Regions from separate parts of the Homo sapiens genome. Here region 1 is linked to region 2. The links are contacts of gene promoters, found by promoter capture Hi-C in blood cells and fetal thymus (Javierre and others, 2016). All regions are on one chromosome and are shown on one strand. The core of a region is centred on a gene start or on the middle of the fragment in contact, and the rest is flanking DNA. Distances in the headings are between cores, read along the strand shown. Region 1 overlaps DDX18 (DEAD-box helicase 18). Region 2 holds the start of UGGT1 (UDP-glucose glycoprotein glucosyltransferase 1).

Evidence for each region. Contacts are between HindIII fragments. The CHiCAGO score rates a contact against its expected background, and 5 or more counts as called.
Region 1: a fragment that was not itself captured here is called in contact with the fragment with the promoter of UGGT1 in region 2 in 1 of 17 cell types (non-activated CD4 T cells); the score reaches 7.4 in non-activated CD4 T cells.

Annotation. Positions count from the first base shown.
Region 1 is chr2:117,815,460-117,820,339 of GRCh38, forward strand. It overlaps DDX18 (DEAD-box helicase 18), which reads left to right. Exons shown (of 14, transcript NM_006773.4): 2 at 1,985-2,269; 3 at 4,190-4,333. Among named protein-coding and RNA genes, the nearest start is that of DDX18, 3.2 kb to the left of the region's middle. RefSeq lists an enhancer at 1-89. The HindIII fragment of the contact is 4,634 bases long and covers 975-4,880 here.
Region 2 is chr2:128,088,706-128,093,770 of GRCh38, forward strand. It overlaps UGGT1 (UDP-glucose glycoprotein glucosyltransferase 1), which reads left to right and starts at 2,495. Exons shown (of 41, transcript NM_020120.4): 1 at 2,495-2,710. The coding sequence starts at 2,653. RefSeq lists an enhancer at 2,257-2,566. The HindIII fragment of the contact is 755 bases long and covers 2,263-3,017 here.

The DNA.
Region 1 (4,880 bases), core at 2,042-4,541, about 10 Mb before region 2:
TTTGCAGTCCCAGTGTCCTGACAGTGGGGCCACAGATCTTGAAGTAATTGTGTTAACCTGTTGTCCAGGTTAAGATACAAACTCCCCGAGGGAAAGTTTGGAGGCACAGTGCCTTGCCCCAGTTGGTTTTCAACAGACATTAATTGAAAAAAAATTCTGCAGGAGGCAATAGGTTTGTGAATTTTAGGAATATGTTTTGAAATACTCTTGTATTTCTAATTCCTATAGAATAATACTACAGCATTACTACTTTTCAGCGCATATGTAAGTAAATTTGAACAAAAGATGGTGTTTTATCTTTTTCAGTAAACAAACAGGGAACCTTTGGTAAGGACATTCTCAGGTACAGTCATGCATCGCATAACAGGAGGGGGGATACATTGTGAGAAATGTGTCATTAGGGGCTTTTGTCGTTTTGCGAACTTTATCTAGTTACACAAACCTAAATCTACTACACACCCAGGCTACATGATATAGCCTGTTGCTCGTAAGCTGTCATCCTGTACAGCATGTTACTGTACTATACTCAGAGAATTGTAACACAATGGTAAGTGTATGTATGGCTAAATATATCTAAACATAGAAAAGGTACAGTAAAAAGACTATGACATGAGAGATTTAGAAAATGGTACCTCTGTATACAGTACTTACCATGAATGGAGTTTGCAGGACTGGAAGTTACCCTGAGCGAGTCAGTGAGCGGTGAGTGAATGTGAAGGCCTAGAACATTACTGTACACTATAGACTTTATAAACACTGTACACTTGGGCTACACTGTTGAGTTTTTTAATACTTTTATTCTTAAATTAACCTTAGCCTGCTGTAACTTTTACATTATAAACTTGTTAAATTTTAACCTTTTGACTTTAATAACACTTAGCTTACAACACAAGCACATTGTACATACAGCTGTACAAAAAGTTTCCTTTTGTCCTTATTCTATGTGATTTTTATTTTATTTTTTTTTCTTTTTAAGCTTTTTGTTAAAAATGTAAAGACACAGACACATTCAGTTTCACTGTCTTCCGCTTCCACATCTTGTCCCACTGGAAGATCTTCAGGGGCAACAATAGGCATGGAGCTGTCATCTCCTATGATAACAGTGCCTTCTAAAATACCTCTCTCCCTGAGGCTCTTTTACAGTCGACTCATTTTTTTTTAATAAGTAAAAGGAGTAAACTCTAAAATGATGATCAAAAGTATAGTAAACACATAAACAAGTAACATAGTTTATTATCACGTATTATGTATTGTACATAATTATGTGTGCTGTACTTTATACGACTGGCATTACAGTAGATTTGTTTATACTAGCATCACTACAAACATGAGTAATATGTTGCACTACGACATTGCAGTTACTGATGGCACTAGGTGATAGGAATTTTTTAGCTCCGTTATAATCTTATGGAGCCACTGTATATGTTGTCCTTAATTCACAGAAATGTCATTGTGCACGCATTACTGTATTTGCATATGATAAATATTGGAGCAAATAAGTGGTCTTATCAACTGAATTTTCAACTCACTGCAGTCTAGAAGAGTTGGGGTTGAATGTTTTGAAGTGGTATGAAAAATAGTACTTGTGTGAATGAGTTGTAAATGTCTTTTTCAATATATCAGTTAATCATATGTTTATCAAATACTTATGTTTATTCTGTAACTGCCATTATCTGACCTCATCTGTTTAAATATTTGACCTCATTGAAGTTTTCCTGTCCTAGACTCCTTAAAGTCAGATGTACGGTCTTTTGCAGTTAAGAAATCAATATAGCTTTCCCTTTTCCAGTATTTTTTCTTTAAGATAACTTACTTTCCCTATAAGGGAACACCATAAAACTATAAGTTGTTTTAATTACATGAAAGAGAAGAAAATCTAAATAATTTGTGTCAGGAAGCCATGGAAGTTCTCATTTGGGATTTCAGTGTTTCTAAGTAAACTTCTCCTTCTTTGTCACAGTATATGTTCTGTTTATTTAAACAGGGGCCTCAAATCTGACCCTATCGGAAACTCAAAATGGAGATGTATCTGAAGAAACAATGGGAAGTAGAAAGGTTAAAAAATCAAAACAAAAGCCCATGAATGTGGGCTTATCAGAAACTCAAAATGGAGGCATGTCTCAAGAAGCAGTGGGAAATATAAAAGTTACAAAGTCTCCCCAGAAATCCACTGTATTAACCAATGGAGAAGCAGCAATGCAGTCTTCCAATTCAGAATCAAAAAAGAAAAAGAAGAAAAAGAGAAAAATGGTGAATGATGCTGAGCCTGGTAGGTATTTATTATCTTTGAACTTCAGCCATTTAGTTTTTCACAGACGGTTATTGTTCCTCTTTCTATTACTATTGTGTGCACATGACATGAGAATTCCCTGTACTCACCAGTATGTTAGAGATTAGCCTGGTAGCTAATGGAAACATTTTATTGGCAGAAGCGGGGAGTCCATTTCAACTTTTCTCAAAATATTGAGGAATATATTTTTAATTTCACTAACCTTGAAGAAAACCTCTCTCAGAAAAGACTCTCCTTAGAATTCTAGAAATTTTCTCTTCTTTTTAAGTTACCTTTTTTCCTGCTTGATTCTTCCCATTTTCCTTCCATAAATTCCTCCCTTTGAAAGGAATATTAGTTACAAAGTATATAAAGTAGGAAACTTCTGAATAAATGGAACATTAATTTCCAAGTGCTAAGAATGGCAGGAGGAAAAGGAAGGAATGTTTTTTGAAGATGATGGAATTTCAGTAAGCTCGGATGAAAGAATGGACATTATAATTGAGATTTGTATAAGCAGAGATATCAAGGTAGGATAAGATAGGGGTCAGCAAACTATCCCTCCTTCTACCTGTTTTTGTAAATAAAGTTTTACTGGGTCATAGCAATGCCTATTTGGTTGTGTTTATGGCAACAGAGATCATATGACCTGCAAAGCCTAAACTATTTACTATCTGGCCCTTTGCGGAAAGTTTGCCAGCCCCTGAGTTGGAACATCCTATTCATGTATTTTACCTGAAATAAGGGTTTTATTTAGAAAGGGACTTTGAACTTTTCCAAACATGCATTACTGTCTTCATGATGCCTACACACAGAAGTCATTGTAATCCTGTTCTAAAATTATTGCCTTCACAATTCTTGTTTTGAGTATGCCCCAGGAAGTGGTATTATTTCTGCTCCCAAGCATTGAATCACAATGCTGGGCGTTTTAACCTTATGGGTTTTTTGTTTGTTTGTTTGTTTGTTTGTTTTATTATGAGATGGGGTCTCACTGTGTTGTCCAAGCTGGTCTTGAACTCCTGGGCTCAAGTGATCCTCCCACCTCGGCTTCCCAAAGTGCTGGGATTACAGGCAGAAGCCACCACACCCAACCACCTTATGGGTACATTTTAGGAACTATTCCAGGGAAAACAAAATAAGCCATGGAGACCAGCTGAAGATATCTGTGGCTTTTGAACATGTAGGTCCTACAAAGTTGACTCTTTCCTGGAAGGGTGGCCGTCAGGTACAGGGAGGAGACCAGTACTGAGCTACAGAGAGTCCTGGGTTGTGGTCTAAGTTCTTTTCAAACATCACTAATTGCCATATAGTTTTATATAAACACAGCATGTGGTTAATCCATTTGACCCAGAGTCGAACATTGAAAAGAGAAGTGAGAGGTAGGACTGAAAAGGTAGTTGGGGCCACATGAAAGTTGTGAATGTAGAAATGAGGGTGGGAAGAAGCCCTGCCTTTCCTCCCACCCTCATCCCTGATAGCCAAGGCACAGTCCAGTGTATGTCAGCCAGGCAAGTGGGTTGTTGCCCTTCCTTTACAGTCTATCTCTAGTAACATGAAGAGCCTTTGATAGTGATTGGCGTGGGAAGAAAAATGACTACTTATAATGAGTTTTTAAGGATTATGTTAATCAGGTATGCTTCCTTTCCCCTCAGTGGAGTATGTGAAACTTATAATTGGTATGTTTATACTGTTTAGTTGAACAAAAGCCTAAAAGGTTTTGTCACCAAGTCTGTCTGTACCCTGGGTTTTTAAATACAACCACTCATTTTTCACCAAACAGAATTCTTAACAAATTAATACAGCATATACTTAGCTTTTGAAAATATACGTCTTTATATCAGAGATCTTCTGTTTGTTGATCTCATTTGGAATTCTATTTTAAGGAAAAATTTTTTCGGATTTTGTCTTTTAAAACCAAAGATACGAAAAAAGCAAAAACTGAAAACAAAGGGAAATCTGAAGAAGAAAGTGCCGAGACTACTAAAGAAACAGAAAATAATGTGGAGAAGCCAGATAATGATGAAGATGAGAGTGAGGTGCCCAGTCTGCCCCTGGGACTGACAGGTAACGTCCAGGAAGTTTTCTAGAGGTAACTTCTTTAAAATGTGCCTCTCTTAGAGGATTATAGGTTTGAAGGTTCAGTTGTGACTTTCAGTTTACCTGAAAAAAGTAACTATCAACAAGAAACTTTTTTTATATCTTTCTGCTGCTTTTTCTCTTTATCTTCTATTTTGTGGTGTTTTAGTTCTTTTTGTTCCCTGTTTTTTTCCTTTTGTTCATTCCTGACACCAAATATTTTATATGCACACTAGCAGCTTCTAGGATTCCTTGGTTTGTCCTTTTCTGAGTCTCATTCTATGTTGTAATAGGAAAATGATTGGCCCTGTACGAGGTTAACCTCCTTTGGCCTTTGTTCCTTTATAAAGTTGAGTTTAGGCTAGAATTCACTGCTCCTAACCAGATATGTCTAGGAGTTACTTGAGTTGTTTATTTGGTTTGGGTTGGTTGGTTTGTTAAAATGTTGAGGCCCAACCCTAGACCTGCTTAATCCAAATTGCAAACGTTTTGGTAGTAGCTCTCGAGCAGGGAAATTCGCCCCCCGAGTAAGAAG
Region 2 (5,065 bases), core at 1,245-3,744:
CTATCTTTGCAACTTCTTGTGAATTTATAATTATTTCTAAATAAAAAGTTTAAAAAATTTTTTAAAATCTGTTTTTATTCAAATAAGGTAGCACTTTTCAGAGAAAGGTTTAGAAAAGGTGAAATCCAACTTTCCTAGAAGCTCTGTGCTACCACTTAGCTGTATTTTAAAACTAAGCAAACTTTGGTTTTGTTCATGGATCACATAGCAGAAGATCAAGATAAGGCCAAGAAAAAGTATATAATCAACTTTGTAATGAGGTGAATTAACAATTTCCTTTTTATTGAAGCATTAGCTGATGTGATTTAAAGAGGGCTAGAAAATACACTATGGAAAGCTAACACAACAGCTCCCTTGTGAAATAAATTTTAAAATGCTCATGTTTTTTTCTTTTCGTAGGTGTGTGTACACATTTAGTTTTATTGTAACAAAGCAACTTGTACACTTTTAACATTTAAAACTGAGCATGATCTTTCCTTTCCAGTGAAACAAAATTTAAAAATAAACAGGAACAAAATTACAATAGAGAATGTCAATTCCAAATAAGATCCTAGAGGTTCTGCTGATTCTCCCACTGAGTGGCAGGGCTCAAGTCATCATTAGGAGAGAATTTATTTTAAAAGCGTCATCTTAAACTGCAAGGATGTGTGTCAAACATCGCAATTAAACATGCCAAAGGAGAAGCCATGTTGTCAAAATGTCCGCTTAACCCACCCAAACATCTCAGACCCACCCTTTGCTGACTTCTAGAATCCCATTTTTTAAAGTTTTTTTCTTTTTTTAAACAAGAGAAAGTAGACAGAAAGATGTTGGTAAATGCTAACTGTCCATATTCACATAGAGACCCAGTGTACTCTCCGAGCCCAATATACAGAGAAAGCAGGAAGAAAGCTAGAATTGAATGCTCTGCTACACATGGGCCTAGAGCCCTCCAGCTTCCAGCAGGGCGAAGGGAGCAGGTTTTTCTTTTTTCCCACAGAGCTGGGGTGATGTTGATTCTATACAGTTTTTGCTCAGACAGGAAGGGATAAAAATGAATTTCGAACAGAAAGGGGTAGAGACTCTTTTCCCATTGTATTCTGCTGAAGTTATTTCCCCCAAAATAAGTTGAGAACTATAGTGTAGAGAAAAGAAACCTCAAGAACAGGGCGACTGAGCACAAGAGAGAAAAAACAAAAAACAAAAAAACAAAAAAACTGCAACTTGCTCCCAGGGACTGGAGAAAATGTAAAAAAAGGAAGGTTGGAATCCATCAGTGTTTTTTTGCTGTTGTTGTTGCTGTTTTTTTTTTTTTTGAGATGGAGTCTCCCTCTCTCGCCCAGGCTGGAGTGCAGTGATGCGATCTCTGCTCACTGCAAGCAACCTCCGCCTCCCGGGTTCACGCCATTCTCCTGCCTCAGCCTCCATCCTCAGCGTGAGCCACCGCGCCCGGCCTCCATCAGTGTTCCATTAGTCATCTCCTTCATCCTCCTCTCCTTCCTCCCCTTCATCATGTTGGCTCATGTTTATTTATTAAAATTATTTTGGGCCGGGCGCAGTGGGTCACGCCTGTAATCCCAGCACTTGGGAGGCCGAGGCGGGTGGATCATCTGAGGTCAGCAGTTCGAGACCAGCCTGGCCAACAGGGTGAAACCCTGTCTCTACTAAAAATACAAAAATTAGCCAGGCGCGGTGGCGCACGCCTGTAATCCCAGCTACTGGGGAGGCTGAGGTGGGAGAATCGCTTGAATGCGGGTCGGGGGGTTGGGGGGTGGGGGGCGCGGGCGGGGGCGCGGAGGTTGCAGTGAGCCGAGATCGCGCCACTGCATTCCAGCCTGGGAGACAGAGCGAGACTCCAACTCCAAAAAAATATTTTTGGCTTTTCATTCACTTTGACTTAATATACTTAAAAATATACCCTCCAAAGAGGTATTCATTTTTGGGTGGGTTAAATGCTACCTATTCCAAAACAATTTTAAACTGGTTTATATTAGTTAAAAAAAAAATACTAAAAGGACAAAGTAGTCCCTGTAGACTAAGCTGCCGCTGTCCGAATAAGAAAGCTCAAGCGGCTCATAAAATTTAAAAAGTCTTCCTTTCATCATGCCTCCTGGAAGGTAGCTATCAAAATTTTAGGGTTTAGTATAAAGTCTAAGATGCTCAGAAACATTAAGACAATTGTCCTTACTGTGCCACCGAAAGGCTAAAGGGAGTAAGCTTTTAACAAAGGTTTAAGGGAGTAAGTCCCAGAGTCCAAACTGGATTTCACCGACTGACTGTTGAAGCTTTCGGGTCTCAGCTGTTGGCCCAACGAACCTTCCCAAGACCTTGAAGACCGGCAGCCTACCCGCCACCCTGAAAGGCGGAAGTGAGGAGAGAGGCAGGACTCCCCCCTCCCCAACCCTCGGAGATGAGAGGGCGACCGCGCGACGCTCTGGGCTGCTAGGTCTCGACTCGGTATCCGGAAGTCCTCCAGCGTTCGCCTGCAGGAAGCGGAAGTAAAAGGGCGGCCGGCAGCTGGGCAATTGCTTTGCGAGGCTGGGTGTTGAGTCGAGCCGCGGGAAAGGCGCGTGTCGGCCTCTCACTGGCGCAGCCTGCACTGCCGCTGCCGCCTCGCCCCGCCCTGCCCTGGCGTTGTCTCTGGCACTGTGGCGGACTGACCACGGCCCGGGCATGGGCTGCAAGGGAGACGCGAGCGGTGCGTGTGCCGCGGGTGCGCTGCCGGTGACAGGTACCCAGGGGTGGCGTGAGGAGGCCTCGTGGACAAAGAGAGGGTTTGGGGCACAAGGCGACCCTGTGCCCCTGTCACATTGAGCTTCCGCCTCTACCGTGACTCAGTTTACCCTCTGGTGTCCTATCCCTTCCCCTATTCGCGAGCGCCCCGAGTTGCCCTCAGTGGTCTTCTTGGCAAGGTATCGCTTCCGCGGGGGTGGCGGCGGGCTCTGTTCAGCGGTCTTGAACCTTCTTTGAAGAGCTTTAGATCCTTGTGCCAAGTGCAGAAGGAAATGGGGGAGGTATCCTACCATGGATTTAGACCAAGCTTGATCCTCAGTGAGTTGAGAAGCAGCACTTTGCAGGACCCTGATTGCAGAACGACGTGCTTTTTAAAATAGATTTCAATTTTTCCTAAAATGAATTCGGGTTGATGCGTATTGGTTACTGTTTTCTTTTAACACTGTGATCTGTTGGCTGGAAATTGGATGATATGGTTTCACTTTTAGCGTGGGACCTGCCAGAATGAGATCTGCGTCCGTCGCCAATAACTTATAGATGTGAACTGTTTTTGTTCCTTGGCCAGAATCTGCAGTTGTTTTGCATTTCTTGCCAGATTTGAGAAGGAGCAATTTTGTTCGTTTGAAGTCCTGGGGTCTTTTGCCTTATTGTGCTACACTAACTGTTTTGGAAACATTCATTGATGTACTTGCCAGCCAATTTTAGTGTAAAGTGCCCTCTTTCCTTCAAGAATCTTACACTTGCAGGCGTTTGAAGACATTTTAAATAGCTATTTAACAGCACCACAAAACTTGGAATAATTGTAGCCTTTTCACTTTGCTTTTTTTTTTTTTAAGCCAGTCGAATTTAGCAACACTTGACTTGCTTTTGATAAACTTAGCTGAAGCTTATTTTAAAAAAATTCTTATTTATTTATTTATTTATTTATTTTGTAGAGATGAGGTCTTGTTACCTACCAGTCTGATCTTGAACTCCTGGCCACATGAAACTTATTAAAGGAAGTGACCATAATACTTTGTACAGTAGCATAGCACATTTATAATGCACATTGAACTTCAGGGGAATATATGAAAGTAAGAAGAAAATTTGCTTAGAACTTTCCTGCAGCTGTCTGTGAGCATTTTCTTTTTTTATCTAAGTTTCCCTGTAACAATACAAGATGATGTGATAATTTTCTTTCTTTCTTTCTTTTTTTTTTTTTTTTTGAGATGGAGTTTCACTCTTGTTACCCAGGCTGGAGTGCAATGGTGCAAGAGATAGTGTTTTAATTTATTTTTTTATTTTTTGTTGGTGAGGCAGAGTCTTGCTCTGTTGCCCAGGTTAGAGAATAGTGACATGATCTTGCTAGCTGCAGCCTCCACCTCCTGGGCTCAGGTGGTCCTCCTACCTCAGCCTCCTACGGATGGTTGTTGATAGTTGGGCCTAGAACTTGTTAAAGAGTGTTTTCTGTTTATTCATCATGCCGCAAGTATAATGCTTATCATGCAAAGCCACATGGCACATTCTGTTGGCCATTATCTCAGACTGTTTGTCTTTATAAGCAACATTTAAGAACCCCTAGGGTCAGAATGATAAGGGATCCTATAAAATGAAGACATACTCAAAGCAGAGACCACTTCAGTGAGATTCTTACGTCTGCTTCTCTGGACAGTCTTTTCCTCTGGTTTTACCTGTAGAGTTAAGAATGTGGGGTCAGAGTGGCAAAGCTCTTTTTTAATGTATAGCTTTCCTCCTTTTTTCATCTCAAATGGTGCTGCATCTCTCCCCAAGAACACGTACTCTCTCTCCTTTTTGAAAACAGTGTAGGGGGATCTCGAGGCAGGCCACAGGTTCATAGGATTTTCATTTTACCTATCTTGCAGTCCTAGGCATTTTATAGCATCTTCACTCTTGGTGCCACACTCCTTTCCTGTTGTTTCCATTCATGCCTTAATGAATGAGGCCTGTGTTTATTTCATTTTGAGAGCCTTCTATGTTTCAGGCATAATGCTAGGCGTGGAGACCATGATAGACAAAACACCCTGCTCTTGAGGAGCTCCCATCGGTCCCCAAAGCCAGCGTAAGTGTGGATCTGTCAGATTGGTTGGTTGGATTGCTTCGGTCCCAGCTTCAGGCCTCCTCCCTTGGTTTCAGGTTAAAACTATTCCTTTCTCAGCCACCTGTCTCCCAAGAACTGTGGCCACTGAAAATCCTTGGACTTGCCTTGGTTCTCACAAGCACTTTTCTCAGTCTGAGTCTGCACAGAGTATGGCTTTTTACCCTTTTGTAAAGCCAGAGAACCAGAGAAGAGAGCACGGTATTGTAGAACTTTAAAAGCAGGAAGGTGTGGGTTCTAAGCACTGCTATTTATTAG